Linked DNA regions of Homo sapiens: regions 1, 2, 4, 5, 6 and 7 are each linked to region 3. The links are contacts of gene promoters, found by promoter capture Hi-C in blood cells and fetal thymus (Javierre and others, 2016). All regions are on one chromosome and are shown on one strand. The core of a region is centred on a gene start or on the middle of the fragment in contact, and the rest is flanking DNA. Distances in the headings are between cores, read along the strand shown.

Evidence for each region. Contacts are between HindIII fragments. The CHiCAGO score rates a contact against its expected background, and 5 or more counts as called.
Region 1: a contact is called between a fragment that was not itself captured here and the fragment with the promoter of GBP7 in region 3, in 3 of 17 cell types (total CD8 T cells, total CD4 T cells and activated CD4 T cells). The highest score is 6.5, in total CD8 T cells.
Region 2: a contact is called between a fragment that was not itself captured here and the fragment with the promoter of GBP7 in region 3, in 6 of 17 cell types (activated CD4 T cells, naive CD4 T cells, M1 macrophages and 3 more). The highest score is 11.1, in activated CD4 T cells.
Region 4: a contact is called between a fragment that was not itself captured here and the fragment with the promoter of GBP7 in region 3, in 8 of 17 cell types (activated CD4 T cells, total CD4 T cells, neutrophils and 5 more). The highest score is 10.3, in activated CD4 T cells.
Region 5: a fragment that was not itself captured here is called in contact with the fragment with the promoter of GBP7 in region 3 in 1 of 17 cell types (activated CD4 T cells); the score reaches 6.8 in activated CD4 T cells.
Region 6: a contact is called between a fragment that was not itself captured here and the fragment with the promoter of GBP7 in region 3, in 5 of 17 cell types (activated CD4 T cells, total CD4 T cells, total CD8 T cells and 2 more). The highest score is 11.9, in activated CD4 T cells.
Region 7: a contact is called between a fragment that was not itself captured here and the fragment with the promoter of GBP7 in region 3, in 1 of 17 cell types (activated CD4 T cells). The highest score is 6.4, in activated CD4 T cells.

What each region holds. Positions count from the first base shown.
Region 1 is chr1:89,334,717-89,337,461 of GRCh38, forward strand. No RefSeq gene overlaps it. Among named protein-coding and RNA genes, the nearest start is that of GBP6, 28 kb to the right of the region's middle. RefSeq lists an enhancer at 2,482-2,745. The HindIII fragment of the contact is 2,183 bases long and covers 211-2,393 here.
Region 2 is chr1:89,426,078-89,428,797 of GRCh38, forward strand. No RefSeq gene overlaps it. Among named protein-coding and RNA genes, the nearest start is that of GBP6, 63 kb to the left of the region's middle. The HindIII fragment of the contact is 865 bases long and covers 980-1,844 here.
Region 3 is chr1:89,174,477-89,177,349 of GRCh38, forward strand. It overlaps GBP7 (guanylate binding protein 7), which reads right to left and starts at 1,527. Exons shown (of 11, transcript NM_207398.3): 1 at 1,445-1,527. The region is part of intron 3 of LOC105378842 (a long non-coding RNA gene); the gene reads left to right. The HindIII fragment of the contact is 1,918 bases long and covers 1-1,898 here.
Region 4 is chr1:89,381,968-89,384,667 of GRCh38, forward strand. GBP6 (guanylate binding protein family member 6) reads left to right here. Exons shown (of 11, transcript NM_198460.3): 7 at 1-7; 8 at 697-909; 9 at 1,685-1,787; 10 at 2,126-2,319. Among named protein-coding and RNA genes, the nearest start is that of GBP6, 19 kb to the left of the region's middle. The HindIII fragment of the contact is 8,356 bases long and covers 1-2,700 here.
Region 5 is chr1:88,970,554-88,973,476 of GRCh38, forward strand. The region is part of intron 2 of KYAT3 (kynurenine aminotransferase 3); the gene reads right to left. Among named protein-coding and RNA genes, the nearest start is that of KYAT3, 21 kb to the right of the region's middle. The HindIII fragment of the contact is 1,659 bases long and covers 580-2,238 here.
Region 6 is chr1:89,406,824-89,409,686 of GRCh38, forward strand. It overlaps the pseudogene GBP1P1. Among named protein-coding and RNA genes, the nearest start is that of GBP6, 44 kb to the left of the region's middle. The HindIII fragment of the contact is 1,657 bases long and covers 677-2,333 here.
Region 7 is chr1:89,000,934-89,003,633 of GRCh38, forward strand. No RefSeq gene overlaps it. Among named protein-coding and RNA genes, the nearest start is that of RBMXL1, 9.7 kb to the left of the region's middle. The HindIII fragment of the contact is 3,251 bases long and covers 1-2,700 here.

The DNA.
Region 1 (2,745 bases), core at 52-2,551, 160 kb after region 3:
TATAAGCAGAAAAAAAAAATGACATGGATGAACCTGTTTGTAGAGAACAAATCTTCCTAGTGGAAATCTAAGTTCTTTGCTCCATCTTGTTTCTTCAGGCAAATAAGTTCCTTCAGCATTTCCTGAAGTCACAGTTGGCAATGGAGGAATGCATCCTGCAGGCTGATAAAGACCTGAACTATAGTAGTCAATCCACAATCCCTGCAGGAAAGCTTAAGGGATAATGCCCATGAACCCTAATAAAGGCATAGTCCCACAGGTCTTCTCTGTTTCTTGCTTTCTTTCCCCCAGCTCACTGGTTGAGTTCTCTGCCACTTCCAGACTTCCCATCTGACTCCTAATAGTGGCCTATCCTCTCTGTGGTCTGTAAGTAATACATTTCCCCTGTTTTATGCACTTTGGTTCCACCTCCTCATTACATCTTACTTCCCTGATATACCCAAACCCAACTCCCCACTACCTTCAACCCACTGAGGGCTCTCCTAGAGAGTGGCTATCTTGGCTTATGACTACTCTCAACAGAGAATAGTCAAGGTCAAATTAGAGAGAAACCAAACAACAAAAATCAGAGAGAAAGCAGAGCAAGATGGTCAGTTTGAACCCTCCAGAGACCATTACCCCTACCTAGCAACACCAAATTAAACAACTATCCACACAAGAAAGCACCTTCAAAAGAACCAAAAATCATGTGAATGATCGCAGTGCCTGGTATTAAAATCATATCAAGGAAAAAGACACTGAAGAGGGTAGGAATGATAGTCTTTAACTGCTGACATCAACCTTTCCCCATTCCCAGCAGTGGCCATGTGGCACAGAGAGAGAATCTATGTGCCTGTGAAAGAGAGAATACACACAGCCCTAAAGAAAAGGACAAAAGCCTGGCTGGATTTGTCACCAGCAGACTGAAGAGCCCTTGGGCCTTGTGTGAACATCAGCAGTAACCAGACAGTAGTTGCTGCAAGTCTTGAGCAAGATTCAGTACTATGCTGGCTTCAGGTTTGACCCAGTGCAATCCTGGTGGTGGTGATAAGGATGTTTGTGTCACCCTTCCCACAACTCCAGACAGCTCAGCATGGAAAGAGATATTCCATTTGTTTGGGAAAGTAAGAGAAGAGAACAAAAGTCTTTGCTGGGTAATCCATGAAATTGTACTGGATCTTACCTAAGACCACCAAAGCAGTGATGAAGGAGTTTTCTCTTGACCCCTTTGTTGGATTTGCACCAGGGGTGCCTGATATGGTTTGGCTGTGTCCCCACCAAAATCTCAACTTGAATTCTATCTCCCAGAACTCCCATGTGTTCTGGGAGGGACAAAGGGGGAGGTAAATCATGGAGGTCTATCTTTCCAGTGCTATTCTCATAATATGAATAAGTCTCATGAGATCTGAAGGGTTTATCAGGGGTTTTTGCTTTTGCTTCCTCCTCATTTTCTTTTGCTGCCTCCATGTAAGAAGTGCCTTTTGCCTCCCGCCATGACTCTGAGGCCTCCCCAGTCATGTGGAACTGTAAGTCCAATTAAACCTCTTTTTCTTCCCAGTCCCGGGTATGTCATTATCAACAGCATGAAAATGGACTAATATAGTAAAGTGGTACCAGTATAGTGGGGTGTTGCTGAAAAGATACCCCAAAATGTAGAAGTGACTTTGGAACTGGGTAACAGGTAGAGGTTGGAACAGTTTGGAGGGCTCAGAAGTAGACAGAAAAATCTGGGAAAGTTTGGAACTTCCTAGAGACTTGTTGAATGGCTTTGCCCAAAATGCTGATAGTGATATAGACAATAAGGTCCAGGCTGAGGTGGTCTCAGAGGAACTCAGAGGAGATGAGGAACTTGTTGGGAACTGGAGTAAAGGTGATTCTTGTTATTTTTAGCAAAGAGGCTGACAGCATTTTCCCAATGCCCTAGAGATTTGTGGAACTTTGAACTTGAGAGAGATGATTTAGGGTATCTGGTGGAAGAAATTTCTAAGCAACAAAGTATTCAAGAGGTGACTTGGGTACTGTTAAAGGCATTCAGTTTTATAAGGGAAACAGAGCATAAAAGTTTGGAAACCTTGCAGCCTGACTATGTGATAGAAAGGAAAACCCCATTTTCTGGGGAGAAATTCAAGCCTGCTGCAGAAATTTGCATAAGTAGCAAAGAGCCTAATGTTAATTCCCAACACCATGGGGAAAATGTCTCCAGCCCATGTCAGAGACCTTCAGAGCAGCCCCTCCTGTCACAGGCCTGAAGGCCCAGGAGGAAAAGTGGTTTCTTGGGCCAGGCCCAGGGTCCCAGTGCTGTGTGTAGCCTAGGGACTTGGTGCCCTGTGTCCCAGCCACTCCAGCTGTAGCTGAAAGGGGCCAACATACAGCTTGAGCTGTGGATTCAGAGGGTGGAAGGCTCAAGCCTTGGAAGCTTCCACATGGTGTTGAGCCTGTGGGTGCCCAGAAGTCAACAATTGAGGTTTGGGAACCTCCACCTAGATTTCAGAAGACGTATGGAAACTCCTGGATGCCCAGGCAAAAGTTTGCTGCAGGGGTGGGGCCCTCATGGAGAACCTCTTCTAGGGCAGTGCAGAAGGGAAATGTGGGTTCAGAGCCACCACACAGAGTCCCTACTGGGGAACTGCCTAGTGGAGCTGTGAGAAGAGGGCCACTGTCTTCCAGACCCCAGAATGGTAGATCCACTGACAGCTTGCACTGTGCACCTGGAAAAGCCACAGACACTCAACACCAGCCAATGAAAGCAGCCAGAAGAGAGGCTGC
Region 2 (2,720 bases), core at 162-2,661, 250 kb after region 3:
TTCAATTTTCCCGATGCCACACTTTATTCAGCCTCCGTTTGTCCCTCTTTAGGAACAAGAGCGACTACTAAAAGAGAGATTTGAAAACGTAAGCAGAAGAATCCAAAATGAGATACAGAATCTCCAGAGGACAATGATACAACCAAGGACATGTACCATAAACTAAAGACCAGAGCCTTCCTGTCACCCCTACCCAAGGCATAATTGAAACAATTTTAGAATTTGGAACAAGCGACACTACATTTGATAATAATTAGATCTTGCATCATAACACCAAAATTTATAAAGGCATGCAGTACAATGATCAAAATCATGTTTTTTCCAAAAAAAAAAAGACTGTAAATTGTGCAAAAAAGATGCATTTACCTCTGTACCAACTCAGGAAGGTTCATGAGCTGGTACCACCCAGGAGTTTATTCTTCCAGATGACCAGCAGTAGACAAATGGGTACTGAGCAGAGTCTTAGGTAAAAGTCTTGGGAAATATTTGGGCATTGGTCTGGCCAAGTCTACAATGTCCCAATATCAAGGACAACCACCCTGGCTTCTTAGTGAAGACAATGTACAGTTATCCATTAGATCAGGGCTACACAGTCTATGAGCAATAATGTGATTTGTGGACATTGCCCATGTATTGTCCTCACTGATGATTTCAAGCTAAAGCAAACCACCTTATACAGAGATCTAGAATCCCTTTATGTTCTCCAGAGGTAGGTGGAAGAAACCATGAGCAGGAGCAGGAATTGAGTGATAAACAAATGGGCTAAAGAAGAAAACTTTTCTTCTTGTTCAGTTCATCCAGATTATAACTTTAATGGGACACTTTAGACCATTAGACAGTTGACACTGGATTAAACAAAGTCACATAATGCCAATTACACACTGTATTTATGGCAATGTATAATTTGCAAAGATTGACTTTAAAAGATGCTGTGTAACAGAATTGAATTAATTCAATTACTTATTATTTAGAATGCTAAAGCTTATGCTAGTCTTTTCTAATTCTTAACACTCATACTTGAAATCTTGCTGAGTTTCCCCAGAAGAGAATATCGGATGTTTTTTGACATTTTTGACCCATTTAATAATGTTCTTGTGTTTACTTAGTATACATAGACTTTATCTCATGTGTCAAAAGTCCTAGGAAAGTGGTTGATGTTTCTTATAGCAATTAAAAATTATTTCTGAACTGTAAATACAATGTATTTCACTAGGCTTCTTATTTCTGATTAAGTTTTCTTTTTGCAGTTATTTTTGTCAGAAAAGAAGGTTTTAGTCTTTATAGCAATGGTTGGCAATCTTTTCTGAAAATACCAGATAGTAACTATTTATGACTTCGCAGGTCATACAGTCTGTCTCAAGTACTCAGCTCTGCATGTAGTGCAAATGCAGCCATAGAAAATACATAAACCAATAGGTGTGGCTATGTTCCAATCAATTTTTATTTTCAATAACAGGGTGGCACCCATAAGCCATAGTTTGCAGAACTCTGATTTACAGACACATTGGTCAAAGTTTTATATACCGGCCTTGTGTAACTCACACGTACAAAAATCATATGGATTAGATTATATATATTAGAATCTTGAAAAAACTATGTGGTTATTCAAAATAACACAGTGAGAAAAAAGGAGGGAAGCAGTTAATGCCATTAAATCCACATTAATAATTCTGTCTTTTCTAATTGCTTTGAGGCCTTTTATTACCTTGAGCTACCTCTGATCCAATCACATGGCAAATGCCTCCTTTCATAATAGAGCATGGTGCTGTTTCCTCACTTGAACTGAAACTTCATAGAAGACCAGGTGAGACCACAGAATACTAGATGAAATGTTCATGTAGGTAAGCTTTATATTTTCTTCCAAGCTCCATTGCTACAAAGGTGTAAATAAAATACATTTTTATGAGTTGAAGTAACTTCATGGTAGAAAATAATAACTCTGCCTTCAAAAGCAAATAATGGTTTCTTTGTTAACCAATAAAGCATAAGAAAATGAAAAATCAGCAAAACTGAGTTACTTCCTCCCCAGTTTGGTAGCATTAATATTTAGACCACATTCCAAAGCATCTGACTTGGTTTAGTACTTTTCTCTAGCATATGCCAGAATAGAATCAAGCTCTCTCCAGGGAGGCATGTTGCTTTCCTGCCCTTAGACCCTCCAATGGTGTGCAAGTGTGCAGGCTATGGTGAGTGGGGCCAGGAAATCACCAGGCCCCTGGATGGCATGCTTGGGTCCCAGTGGCAGGTGACCTGGGCCTGCTGTCAGACTTCCTGATGTTGCATGCACATGCCCACAGCTACAGTTGAGGCAGCATGATCCCCAGGCCCTGGGCAGCATGTTTGCATGGTGGGTGGTGTGAGAGCCTGTCCTCAGGACACAGAACAGTGTCTGGGTAGACCAGCTCCAGGACCATTGGAGGCACATGCAGATGCTTGGTGGCCCTGCTTCCGGTGGAAGGTTGAGAGGGTTGCTGTTGGTGGCAGTGGCCCCAGGCAAGTGGCTTTCAGAAACTGAGGAGTGTGCATTTAGGCTCCCTTTGTCCTGGGGGCAGCCTCCCTGGTGTGGTGCACTGCTGTTCCTTACTGCACCACTGGATTCAGCCCACGGGACAAAGTTGCAGCCCTCTGGGTGGAAATGAAGAGATGTCCGCAGGGTTCCAGGGACGTGGAGATGATGGGGCTGTTCGCCCCAGAGCAAGATACAGTCTGATGGGGGCTGG
Region 3 (2,873 bases), core at 277-2,776:
AGATCTTTGGACTGAGCAAAGCTGAGCTCGCTGAGCTCATGTATATAGTAGTAGTAATCTTCACCTGGGAAACATTGTGTTATACATATCTCTATACTTTGAAACATAGATACCATTCTAACCCATTCTTGGTCCTGATTTCTTGCAAGCCCCTCTGTGGGCAGGGTCTGGTCAGACTGTGGGACTCAGGTTACCCAATGGCTTCCTCCTCTCACTGTGCATCAGCATTCACACGTTATTCATGCAAGCCTGATAGCTCGCACCTGACACTTACTCTGTTGATTTTTGACTTGATTATGTTAACAGATTTTGAATTCTCTGCATTTGAAGATTGATTCTTTATTACCTCCATGTATATCAGTCTGCATATTGTTTTTAATTATTTCATGTAATGAAGTCACAGCATGAAACATTCTTTGAAAAACCATGGCTTGTTTTTTGTCTGATCTCTGCTGTATAGAGAGTAGCATATGCACAATTGTAATCATGCTATCTTTATCCAGGGCTTGATAAATTAAATATTTTGATAATTTTGTAAAGTTAAAAGGAGTGAAAAGCCTTCTTGTAGTGATGCTTTAATTTTGTGTTTTTAAGTTGAATGTCTCAATCCTTGTAACTTATGTGATCATGATACAAAATATATAATCTCTTTAAGATACAAGCAAATATAGATGATAGATACTGCAGTTTTCTTTTTTATCCTATAATAAAGAGTGGTTTGTTTCCACTATAGAGTTGGTTACTTCTGACTTGTTCCTCTGGAGGTTTATATTAAATTATCTGGCTTCCCATCACTTCAGCAGAAGATGGAAAAAAAGCCGTTTATTTTTCTGTGATCATGACCCATTTCCTCTTATAGCAATGGCCTACAGGATCTGCTGGCAAGCAAGAAGGGCAAACCAGAAACTAAAAAGATTGGGTATCTATGGAAGATGAGTGAAAACAGAGTATGCGTCTGTCCAATTCTGTAGCATATACTATGCTACCATAACATAGGAATCAATCAGTCACCGGCTCAGAAAGGTGGTGGCACAAAGATGTTATAAGGTCCTGGATTATAATAATGTGTTGCCTCTTTTTGCAGATCCCAAGTTGCCTACCTTCATTTACCTAGAGCTATAAATGTTGGGCCCAATAAAGAAAGTGACAGAGCCTATTAGGCAGATATTTAAAGATAACAGTAATTTAAGATGGTGTCAGAAAAGAAATAACAATCTTAGAACACTGGCTTCTCTGAATATCTGTTCCACCTCTGCTGAAGCCTAATCTGACACAGCAGGAATTAGAGCACACTAAGGTACACACAGCCACCTAAGAGGCCAGGATTTCATCTGGACTTGTATCCTGTAGCTGGCTCAGCTGCAGCCTATCTTGGGGATGGTCAACTTAGAGAAAACTAATGGATCCTTATAAATCATGAAATCCTTATAAGTCATAGTCTTACCCAGAGTAGAGATCCTCTGGACTTGGTAAGAAGGCAGCTTCAATGAGAAAGTTATGAGTCTTTATTCTCTTCTCTTTAGTTCTGAATTTGGCTGCACTGATTTCTCCCACTTTTTTTCTTGCTGGAACTTTGGACTTTTACCTTACCTCTCCAATGTCATGGGGCTTTCCAGACTTTCTAGAGACCTGTATTTATACATGTAAAAAACAATGCAACCTCTGCAAATAAATAGAGTAATATGACAGTCCATGATTTAGCAACAATAAAAGAAATTGCTGACAGCTGTGCTAGTGAGAGGATTTGACATAATTTCTCAAACAGAATCTTCCAATTTTATTATTGGAAGAGATCTTAGAGACAGCTTGCGATTATTAAAAAAACTTCAATGAATCGTTTAAAATAATGACATTCATCTCATGTTTGTGGGCCACATTGAGAAGTACAGGAATAAGAAAGCTTAATATAATATTATTTAGGTTCAATTGGCTTGAATATTAGACTCTTAAAATGGAACTCATTATTTGTGTTTAATAATGAGGACTCTAAATGCCCTGAAGGAATGTCCACGTCTTATACATGTTTGAATTATTAGCACCTAACTCAGGTCTTGGCACTTAACATTTAATAAATAATAATGAAGATAGTACCCGTTTTGTTTACATAGATTATCCCATTGTATTCTTATCACAAATACTTTTACCACAATGTTAAAAGAGGGATTTAATAATTTATTACAATTACAGAGCTACTAAATAAGATTTGGGCCCAAGAAGTCTTGCTGTCAGTCACTTCATTAAAATACCTCTGTGTTTGCTGAGTGTACAATAACAATGTTTTCTCCTTATCAGTTCCATTCTAGGCCATATTCTTTACACATACCATTTTAAATATCAAAATACCTCAAGATAAAGGTTGTTTATTATCCCCATTGTCCAAGGGGGAAAAATAATCAGAAAACGGGTAATTAATATGTCTAACTAAAGCCATTGAGCTACACACCAAGGTAGCAAGTAATTGAGCGAGATTCAAACTTGAAAATCCATTTGGTTAAAACCACATTGATTCTCTACTGCACATTGTCTCTAAAAGAGAGGAAGGTGGGAAGCGGGGAAGAGAGAGAGAGAAATGGAGAGCAGAGAGTAAGACTTCTCTGTGTGTGTGTGAATATTGATGAGATTTAAAGTGAAAGTAAGGCAGGGTTATTTCAAAACAGAACTATTGCTAGGAAATCACCTGCTTCTAAGTAATAAAATCTATTGTTTATATCATGCAAACAAAAAATAGCCCCAGGCAAAATTGAATCTTTGTGAATCATGTATAATTTAAGGGTACATAAATTTATAAGAAAAAAAGATCCCACTTTCCCAACTTGTGTTTTTTTTTTTTGAGACAGAGTTTCTCTCTTGTTGCCCAGGCTGGAGTGCAATGG
Region 4 (2,700 bases), core at 109-2,608, 210 kb after region 3:
GTTCATGGTAATTTGCCTTAGTCATTACTGTTCATCATCCTTCCCCTTGAAGAATGAAGCCTATAGTTGCCTTTATTGTCACCAATGCTCATCTGTCACTGAGGAATAACTTATTGTGGATTCTCATGAGGGATAGAGTTTCAAAAGACTACATATAAGCACTTAACTAGAAAATCTTCTGATAACTGAGGTAAAATCAATACAGATCACTTAAGATCCTCAAGTGAACACTTCTAAGGATTCCAGGCCTGCTCTGAACACGCACAAGTCATCCCTGAGCAGTGCACTTTTTCTGTGCATAGTTTACCTTTCCCAGGAAACAAAGATTCTCTTACCAGATCGTAATTCCGGGCCATTGTTCAACTTACATTGCTCCTTCTTGTATCCTTGTACCATTGAGGACAGGAACACAGGATGATACCATTGCAACAAACCATAGAGATTATGGAATGTAGTCTCATCATGTCACAGATAAGGAACCTGAAGCTCAGGAAGATTAATGAACTTTTCCATAGCCTTGAAGAGAATTTCTAGCATTGTAAATGTATGAAGTTTTGTGTTTCTGATTCCACATCTACTCCACTAGAATGTTTTTCTCATGAGGACCACAGTTAGATTGACTCTACCACCAGATTCTTTAGAATTTCATCTCCTCCATGTTTCTTCTGGTGACATCTCTCTACATTTCCCTTGCAGGAAACCACAATGAATAAGAAGGGGGATTTCTTGCTGCAGAATGAAGAGTCATCTGTTCAATACTGCCAGGCTAAACTCAATGAGCTCTCAAAGGGACTAATGGAAAGTATCTCAGCAGGAAGTTTCTCTGTTCCTGGAGGGCACAAGCTCTACATGGAAACAAAGGAAAGGATTGAACAGGACTATTGGCAAGTTCCCAGGAAAGGAGTAAAGGTAAGGAATAAGGGGAGCATGGGGAAGTTTATAGGATAGAGTGAATGGAGTCTTCAGCACCAGCCGTGGGTAATAAGAGAGCAGAGGGATAGCATAACGCCTTAGCTTTCAATGTCCACTAATTAATATTTATTTCTTAGAATAAAAATTTTTATTCCAAAACAAAGAGTATAGTATTCAGAAATCCAGGAGAGACAGAATGAAAATTACCACCTAGGTGGTGGTAATAAACATAATAGTAGTAATAATACAACTAACTCACGAGCTGTTATTACCTACAGTATACTGTTAAATTCTTCCCCAGACATTTTAATTTCATCTTCCTAATGACTTTAAGAAGCACCTTTATTTGGAAATTTTACAGATCTGAACTTAGTACCCAAGGATGATTACATAACTTGCCTAAAGTTCTAGCCAGCAAGTGGCAGGAGAAAGCAACAGCATAGATTAGAGGCAGCATTGCACACTGGAAGACAGACATGTATAAGCATCAGAGATTGGGAGTTTGTACACCTGTGCACATAGTTCTGCCTGGCCGGAACCCAAAACGGGTACAGGGAGATATTACAGCAGTGGGAAAGGCACTGGAGGGAGACAGGAAGCAGGAATTGAGGAGGGGCTCTGGTCACCCTAAAGAGCCCGCACACTTTGTAGGGGGCCACTTTAGAATTTTAGGCATAAAGCAAAAGTTACAAGACCATAATTGTTCTTGCAACACTAATACCCAGAACATAGATTTTCAAAGAAATCTAAGTGCTTTTTCTTCCTTCCATAGGCAAAAGAGGTCTTCCAGAGGTTCCTGGAGTCACAGATGGTGATAGAGGAATCCATCTTGCAGTCAGATAAAGCCCTCACTGATAGAGAGAAGGCAGTAGCAGGTATGGGGCAGGGCTCAGCTTACACAGGAGGGGTACGTTTATACAATGCCCTCTAACAGATCTAACAGGAAAACCTTCCCAAAATGAGGAATTTCCTCTTCTGTGGAACACACACTCTGCTAAATCTTAAAATAACAAGGGGAGCTATGATTGTACATCAGCCAGACAGGCAGAGCCTTTCCCATCACATTCTCAAATGCGCTCTTAATGGTGTGGACCTGGGTGAATTCTGTGATTTCTCACCCTGCCTTTCAGATTTGGTTTAGTCTCAGCTCAGAAAAGTGGAGATGAATCTTCACCTATTATTTTCTTCTCTTTCTAATACCTTCATGGAGCAGTGGATCGGGCCAAGAAGGAGGCAGCTGAGAAGGAACAGGAACTTTTAAAACAGAAATTACAGGAGCAGCAGCAACAGATGGAGGCTCAAGATAAGAGTCGCAAGGAAAACATAGCCCAACTGAAGGAGAAGCTGCAGATGGAGAGAGAACACCTACTGAGAGAGCAGATTATGATGTTGGAGCACACGCAGAAGGTAAGTCTGCCCTTGGCCTCAGCAGGCCAGACGGTCCTCACCCAGGTACCTCAGGAAGGGCTGGTGAAGGTTACAGCAACATCATGAAAGGAAGCACATCACCATTTGCTGCTTGGCAATCACTAAAAGCCCTGAATCCTTTTTTTCTTAATTGTTTCAGTAAGACTTGGAATTCTTCTCTATATTCTCTATACTTAGATTCTGGAGAGGTAAGGTTGACTATGATCCCTACAAGTCCTTGGGGAATATAAATAGGGTCGAAGCTGCTGTTTTGGGAGATTTTAAAAGTAATCTCAAGAAGTTAAACATATGTTCCACACAGTGTATTTGATGTGAACAGCAGCTGGTTTCCTTCACCAAGACCACATATTACCAGGAGCT
Region 5 (2,923 bases), core at 159-2,658, 200 kb before region 3:
AATATTACTAGAATGCTGCCTCTTAAAAGTATATTATAAATTTAGGATAAGCCTACTAATACCAAGCAAGCTAAGGCTGTAGTAGAAAAATAGGAATTAAAATTATCACATAGCATACAATTTTTTAGTTCTTTAGATTCTAAAATTGAGTTTTATACTATCTCCCAAAAGTATTGAATTAGCTTTGAGTTCATTGTTAACAAGCTGGTAGAAATAAAAAAATGATTGACAGCATTTTTGCAGAGAATTTTCTAATGGAATATTAATGTAATTTTAATTCAATCTGGGAAGATAACGATAATGGTTATTAAATAGACCATTGTTCTCATTCTATTCTAAATAATGGGACCAAGAAAAATACCTTTTTTAGTGTCATATTTTGTCTTTGAAACTCCAGTGAAGTAAATCACATGAAAATTCTCCAGAGGTTAAAAAGCTTGCTGGAATAGCATTATAATTACCCACCTGAACATGATGCCATTCTAGAGACAACAGTTGTACAACTACCAAGTTCTAGCATGATAGGTTGAAATATCTATCTTAACAAATGCTCTTGTCTATCTCTAACACAATGTTTAAAGCTTAATTCATTCAGTAGAGACCACAAACACAAAGGATGATTTATACATAAAAAAGTGAGTTTGATGTGCTGTAGATAATTTAGACACAAAATCCAACTTTAAATTATTTAGATAATTGAGGTTGAAATGCACTTTCAGGTTTAATTTTCTTTAAAATTTGTTTCTAGACTGGCCTCTTCTCTCATTGTTCTTCCTGCTTCCTCTTCCCTCCCAATTCTATGCCACACCCATTCTAATTTTTCAAATAGTCTATGTTCTCTCTCATTTCAGTAGTTTCATGTGTGATCTTTCCTATGCCCAAATGCTCTTTCTATACCAATGTTTCTCAATGTTTTTTTTTATTATTGCCCACCTAAGGAGACCTTCTTAGAAATTCTTTCCTAGTCATCTTCCCTCCCCTCAATTAAATATTAAGAGGAATACAATTTTGTCACATAGGATTGAGCTTTGGATGGTGACAAAACAGTGTGATAGCTAAGATTTATCTTGTCTGCCAAGCACCCATTTTCTTCTCCTGGGGGAGATCATGCCCTTGTTGAGAGTGCATGTTCTCTACTCAGTCCAATTCCTGGTCCCCACCACCCTTCCTTGCACTTGGCTAACTCCTATTCCACTTGCCAAGTGCAGTTCTCAAATTCGACTTCATTCCCTCCCAAAAGCCTTCTTTGGTTCTACGAGTCAGGGTCAGGTGCTTCTCCTATGTGCTTCTATTAAATGCAGTACAGCAAGTCATCACTTAAAAGTGTCATATAGGTTCTTGGAAACTGCAGCTTTAAGCAAAATGATATACAGCATGACCAATTTTACCATAGGCTAATTGAGATAAATAAGAGTTCAGTTTCTACAGCATATTTCTGGTCACAAAATCACTACTATACTTCTAAATAAAGAATGAAACACTTCTAATATGAAACATTGAAATAAATGTGAGCTATACATACATTTATTTTAAGGAACTGGCTTATGTGTTTGTGAGGGCTGGCAAATCTGAAATCTGCAGAGCAGGTTGGAGACTCAGGGAAGAACGGATGCTGCAACTGGAGTCAGAAGAACTCCCTCTTCCTTGAGGACCTCAGTCTTTTCCTCTTAAGGTTTTCCACTGAATGAGGCCCACCCATATTATGGATGGTAATTGGCTTTACTGAAAGCCTACTGATTTAAACGTTAATCTCATCTAAAATACACCTTCACAGCAATACCTAGACTGATGTTTGGCAAATATCTGGGTACCAGGGCATAGCCAAGGTGACACCATCACAGTGTCCAACATATAGTTATGCCTAGCACATAGTTTCAAATAATTATCTGATGAATGAATTTTTTTAAAAAAACCTCACTCACATTACAGGGTGAACTTATGGTGTCAGTTAGCTCTATCAGTCAGCTAAAGTTCGTTTATGCTTCAGTGATAAATGACCCCAAAGTCTTGGTGGCCTAAAATCATAAAGGTTTTCTTGTTCATACTACATATCCACTGAGGTTCAGCTGCTGCCCTGGTCTGTGTCACTGTCATTCTGAGACATAGGCTGATGAAACAGCCTTCACCTGGAACACTGCCTGTTTCATGGCAGAGGGAAGAGGCTCTTAAAAGGTTCTGTTAGGATGTGCACACATCACTTCTTTTCATATTTTATTGGGCAGAGCAATTTCACAGCTAAGCTTCACATCAGTGGGGCAAGGAAATGTAACTGTCCAGCAGGGAACAGCAGCAAATAATTGTGAAAAACATGGTGGAAATGAAGTCTGGAGGTATAATGAGATACGTGGTTGCTATGGGTTGGACCATGCCCCCCTTAGTTTCATATGTTGAAGTCCTAACTCCCAGTTCCTCCGGATGTAATCTTATGTGGATATAGGGTTACTGCAGATGTAATTAGTTAAGATGAGGTCATTAGCGTGAACCCTAATCCAATATGACTGGTGGTCTTATAAAAAGGTGAGATCTGGACATATACATAGACCCTGTGTGAAGATGAAGGCACAGACTAAGGTGATGCTCCTACCAGCCAAGGAATGCAGAGATTTCCAGGCAATCACCAGATGATAGTGGGGGTGGGGTATAGAACAATCTTATTCACAGCTCTCAGAAGGAACTGGCCATGCTGATACTTATCTCAGACTTTTAGCCTCCCAAACAATGAGGGAATAAACTGCTGTTATTTAGTAAGCCACCTAGTTTGTAGTACTTTGTTAAGGCAACCTGAGGGAACTAACACACTGGTGAAAGTTTACAAGACACTATACAATGTTCGGAGTCACCAAGATTCTGCAGTAGATGCAAATGCTCACTGTCTAAGTAAGAACTACTTCCCAGAGCAGATCCAGTATCAGGTAATTAAAAT
Region 6 (2,863 bases), core at 255-2,754, 230 kb after region 3:
TTTGCTCTCTATACACACATGTACAGATGGTTGATTGTTTTTCTAGCTTGCAGGTCTTGCTTCCATTTGATATGAGACTCAGTAACCCCAGCTGAATCACTGAATCCCTCTTGCTATGAACTCTACAGCCGGCTGCATAGAGCTCTTTGTGTGAAAATAAGCTTATTATCAAAACATTCCACACCTGAAATTCAGTCTGTTCATTGGATGCTAATATCAAGACAATCTTTGAAATCACTAGGCATATACACATTAATTATTGCATCATGTAATAATACTAAATTGTGAATTAATTTTATCTGTGACTATCTACTAGAAGGATTCCATAGACTGCAAACCAAGTGAACTGAAAAGTGAGGAAATGATGCTTCCTCATCCCCACCATCTAAATGAAAAATTCCCTACTTATTTTTTTCCAGCTGTCTGACTTTTTATGTCAGACAATGTGTTAAATATGCCCTTTCCTTATTTACCGCACCTCTAAAAGAATAGGCAGCTCCATTGTGAGTGTGTCTATTATTTTAGGAAATTATAGCTGAAAATTAACATGATGCCTCCTCATTCTAGGATTCTCAAACTGACTCAATCCATGAGACATGTATCATTGTATTCAAAACCTAATGGGCATTTTGTTAGACAACAAATGGTCTCTAAGATTTCCAACAAAAAACTTTGAAGCTTCTGGTTGAGCAATCATTAAACCCTCCCACTGGCACACTCCAGTAATTTCATTTATGGTAGTGGACTTGAATGAAGTACTTTCAGTTTCATATTACTCTAAATCCATTACAAATATGCTTAACCTTTAAATATTTCATCACTGAAGAAATCCCAGCCCTACAACGTTGGAACAGTAAAATATTAGTCCAAGGATCCAGTGAGAGACACAGAAGTGCTAGAAGCCACTCCTCATGAACTAAGGAGAAAAAGAACAGGTAAGAACTTTTACTACTTCTCATTAAGCAGCTTTCTCTTTAGCTCCAAAGGATCTCAGCTCAGGGATATGGAACCCATAAGGTTGTGGCAGGGATGGGAAGGAATTTATAAAGGTCAGTTCATTTTCTTAAACATCGTCAGAACCAAATTAGGCTGCAGATGAGCCTGAAGTGGGACGCAGGTCAGATGAAATCCTGGTGTTATCAGGGACAGCATGGCCTTAAGTGACACTACAGTGTTTGTGTTGAATTAGGCACCAGTAGACAGGGGCTAAACTGAGAGTTTGAAATGCACTAGGATAGTCTTTCTCTTTGTTGTCATTCTCTGTGTTGACTGGAGACATGATTACATTTCCATTATCAGTGATGGAGCTTGCTGAATCCTGCTCCTATGCAGCTAAGAAATGGAAAGAGCTACAAATGGGTTCTTTTCATAAGGAAAGAACAGCAAATGAGAAGCAGAGTAATCAGCCCACTGACATGGTTAAAGACAAAGAAAAAACTGAAACTCAGCCTGAAAGATGAAGATTCATGAAAACAGTATACTTTTTATTACACTTGTGAACTTCGTTTCAGAATGGATTACTTTCTTTAGAAATAGTCCAGACTCACTAATTTCCTAGTGCCCACTGATCCCTGTCCCTTAGAAGTGAAATTCAACCCCACTGCTTCACTAAAGTGCTTCCAATTTTGTCTTCTTTTAGTAGAGACTGGGGCCTAAAGTGTTTCCTCTTTAATTCTCCTGTAATGCATCTCTAGAGAAAATATCTTTGCTTATTTTAACCTCTCTATGCAATCAGACTACTTTAATCCTGCCTTCTGGAAAGTCCTCGCCTGAATTCCTTGTCAAGACACTAGCCTCATTCATCACCTTCTGGTCTGATAGCTCTTTCTCGCTCTCTCTCTCTCTCTCTCTCTCTCTCTCTCTCTCTCTCTCTCACACACACACACACACACACACAAACACACACACACCTTCCCAGCCCCTTCTCCTCCTCCTCTCCACTCCTACTATTCCTCCTCTATTTCTCTTTCTCCTACCCTACCAAATGGAAAACAGAACAAAACAGAAATCCTAAAGCTGTATCGCTGGAAATATATTTCATTTGAACAACTTCCTAGGTAGCTCTCTTTATCTGCCTCTTGATCTTTTAATCCTTATTTCATTATCTGGGGGAAACATTCAGCATTTGCAATTTTGCATTCATACCCTCACTGAGTTAGAGGCTACCTTATTGTGACTCTAACGCAGCTTAAGTTTCAGGGCCCTTCTCTTGGACATGACCCTTCAGAGTCCTTGGAAGGTTCCTCAGCCATGTGTTTCACATGTTTGTATAGTTTTCTAAAATTTGCAAAAGTATGTTACGTTGTTTCCACTTCCAGAATGGCACCGTGAAAAGCTTTATTGATCCTCATTGCGGTGAAATAAGCATAACCACTTGAAGATGGAGGAAGGAACACATTTAAAAATCTTTGGAAATTGTTCTAAGGGTAAACATCAAACTATGAATACTGATTCACTGTATTATTCACTGTAAGAATTAATAAGTAAATCAATATTGAATTCCTTATACACAGCCAGGATGCAAAATAAATCCTCTAAATCCTGTTCTATCTTCCATTAATTGACTAGTGAAAATATTTAAAAAGAATCCAAAAAGAAAGTTTTCCACTATAAATTAAATGAAATATTTGAGTTGTGAGCATAGTTGAGTGTTGATGAGGCAGGAAATTAAAGAAAAATACAATTAAAAATAAAAAGAAATAAGTTTTCCTGTATTAGGCTGACTTGTCCCAGAGGCAGCAACAGGCACAGACCAGACCCAGGAAAAGTCTTGATAATACTATCTAAGGTGCTCTGGAGACTCTCCCAGCACTCCCTCAACATAGGAAGAAGAAAAATAAATTTTCCTTTGTTTTATGGAAAA
Region 7 (2,700 bases), core at 175-2,674, 170 kb before region 3:
AGGGATAATGGTCTGTAGTTTACTTTTGTACTGTATTTGTTTAATTTTGTTATCAGGATGATGCTGTGCTCATAGAATGAATTGGGAAATGTTCCCTTTTATATTTTCTGAAAGAAATTATTAAGAATTGGAATTATTTAAAAAATGCTTAGTAAGGTTTGCCAGTCAAGAGGAACTATCTGGATGTGGAGATTTGTTTTTCAGATTCTTAACTTTTTTACTCCATTTCAGTTTCTTTAGAAATTATATGACAGTTCAGGTTATCTATTTTAACTTGGGTGAGTTTTAGTTGCTTGTTTGTGCTTTTTTCAGAAATTAGTCCATTTGAGTTGCAGAAGTTATACACATAGAGTTGTCAGAATGTTGAAATGTTGATTTTTAGTTTTACTATTTAATGCATCAAAGATTAAAAGTATTTCTTAAATCTTGATGTTTTTTAAAATTTTTTTGGTAGAAACACTTTATTTGGCTTTGTTGATTCTTGAGCCTGGTCATTTGTAAGACTGATTGGACAGGTTTCACTGAGGGATTTCTGCCTTTTTTTTTCTTTTTTTTTGTCAGGATCTCAGTGTTTGATGTGCTCCTTCCCTGTGGATCAGAGGAGCTTGTATTTCCTTTCACTAAACTCAGAGAAGGAAAACTAGCAACTTATTACTTAAACAAGAGAAGAAATACTTCTGTAAACTGAAAATATTTTTGGCACAGAGACACATACCATACAGGCCAGCAATTTTAGGCCTTAAGCTATGGTAGCTTCAGCAAACAGGAAATGAATAAGGGAAACCTGAAGCACCTTGTCATACAGATAGTGAGAAGGCTACAGGGTCATTCCAAAAGGATTCCAGAGCCAACTTATTCAGGCTCCCAATGGCCAGTACTCCTGGTTGTAGATCCAGGAACAATGCAAGAAAATCATAGCATTGCATTGCCATTTTCTTGTCATTGTTGCACTCAATGACACTCTCAGACCTACTATGTCAGAAAGTCAGAGGAAGGGTAGGGGCCAGGGAATCTTTATACTTAATAAGGTGATTTTAATGCATATCAGGATTGAGGAGCACTGGTGAAAGCAACATGCCTCCTTGGACAGTGAGCTTTATTTGATTCCTGGAGATATTAAAGAAAAGCACTAAATCAGAAGTCAGATGATATGGATTTGGGTCAGGACATTGATGCTACCAAACTAAGGAGGAAGTAACTTAATTTTGCTGAGTTTATAGTAGCCTTGAATGATCTTTTGTATTTCAGTGGTGTCAGGTTTAATACCTCCTGTTTTGTTTGTTAGTGAAGTTATTTGGATTTTCTCTCTTCTTTTCTTAGTTAATCTTGCTAATGGTCTATCAATGTTATTTTTCTTTTCAAAGAACCAGCTTTTTGTTTCATTTATCTTTTGTAGTTTTTTTCAATTTCATTTATTTCTCTGATCTTGGTTATTTCCTTTCTTCTGGTGGGTTTGGGTTTGGGTTTGGTTTGTTCTTGTTTCTCTAGTTCTTTGAGGTGTGAACTTAGATTGTCTGTTTGTGCACTTTCAGACTTTTTGATGTAGGTGTTTAGGGCTATGAACTTTCTTCTTAGCACTGCCTTTGCTGTATCCCAGAGGTTTTGATAGGTTGTGTCATTATTGTCATTCAGTTTGAAGAATTTTTTAATTTCCATCTTGATTTTGTTTTTGACCCAATGCTCATTCAGGAGCAGGTTATTTAATTTCCATGTATTTGCATGGTTTTGAAGATTCCCTTTGGAGTTGATTTCCAGTTTTATTCCACTGTGGTCCGATAGTGTGTTTGATATAATTTTAATTTTCTTAAATTTATTGAGGCTCATTTTATGGCCTATCATGTGGTCCATTTTGGAGAAAGTTCCATGCACGGTTGAATAGAATGTGTATTGTGAGGTTGTTGGAAGAAATTTTCTGTATGTATCTGTTAAGTCCATTTGTTCCAAAGTATAGTTAATCCATTGTTTATTTGTTGATTTTCTGTCTTAATGACCTGTCTAGTGTTGTCAGTGGAGTATTGAAGTCCTCCAGCATTATTGTATTGCAGTCTATCTCATTTCTTAGGTCTATTAGTAATTATTTTATAAATTTGGGAGCTCCAGTGTTAGGTGCATATATGTTTAGGATTGTGATATTTTCCTGTTGGACAAGCCTTTTATCATTATATAATGTCCCTCTTTGTCTCTTTTAACCACTGTTGCTTTAAAGTTTGTTTTGTCTGATATAAGAATAGTTACCTCTGGTCGCTTTTGGTGTCCATTTGCATGAAATGGCTTTTTCCACCCATTTACTTTAACTTTATGTGAGTCCTTATGTGTTCGGTGAGTCTCCTGAAGACAGTGGATAGTTGATTGGTGAGTTCTTATCTGTTCTGCAGTTCTGTATCTTTTAAGTGGAGCATTTAGGTGATTTACATTCAATGTTAGTATTGAAATGTGAGGTAATCCTTGCGTTCATCGTACTCTTTGTTGCCTGTGTACTTTGTTATTTTTTTGTTTTTGTTTTTTGCTTTTGCTTTTTACCTTGTATTTTTGTTTTGTAGGTCCTGTATGATTTATGCTTTAAAGAGGTTCTGTTTTGGTGTGTTTCCAGGCTTCGTTTCAAGATTTAGACCTCCTTTTAGCAGTTCTTATAGTGGTGGCTTGGTAATGGTGAATTCTCTCAGCAATTTTGTCTGAAAATGACTGTTTCTTTCCTTTACG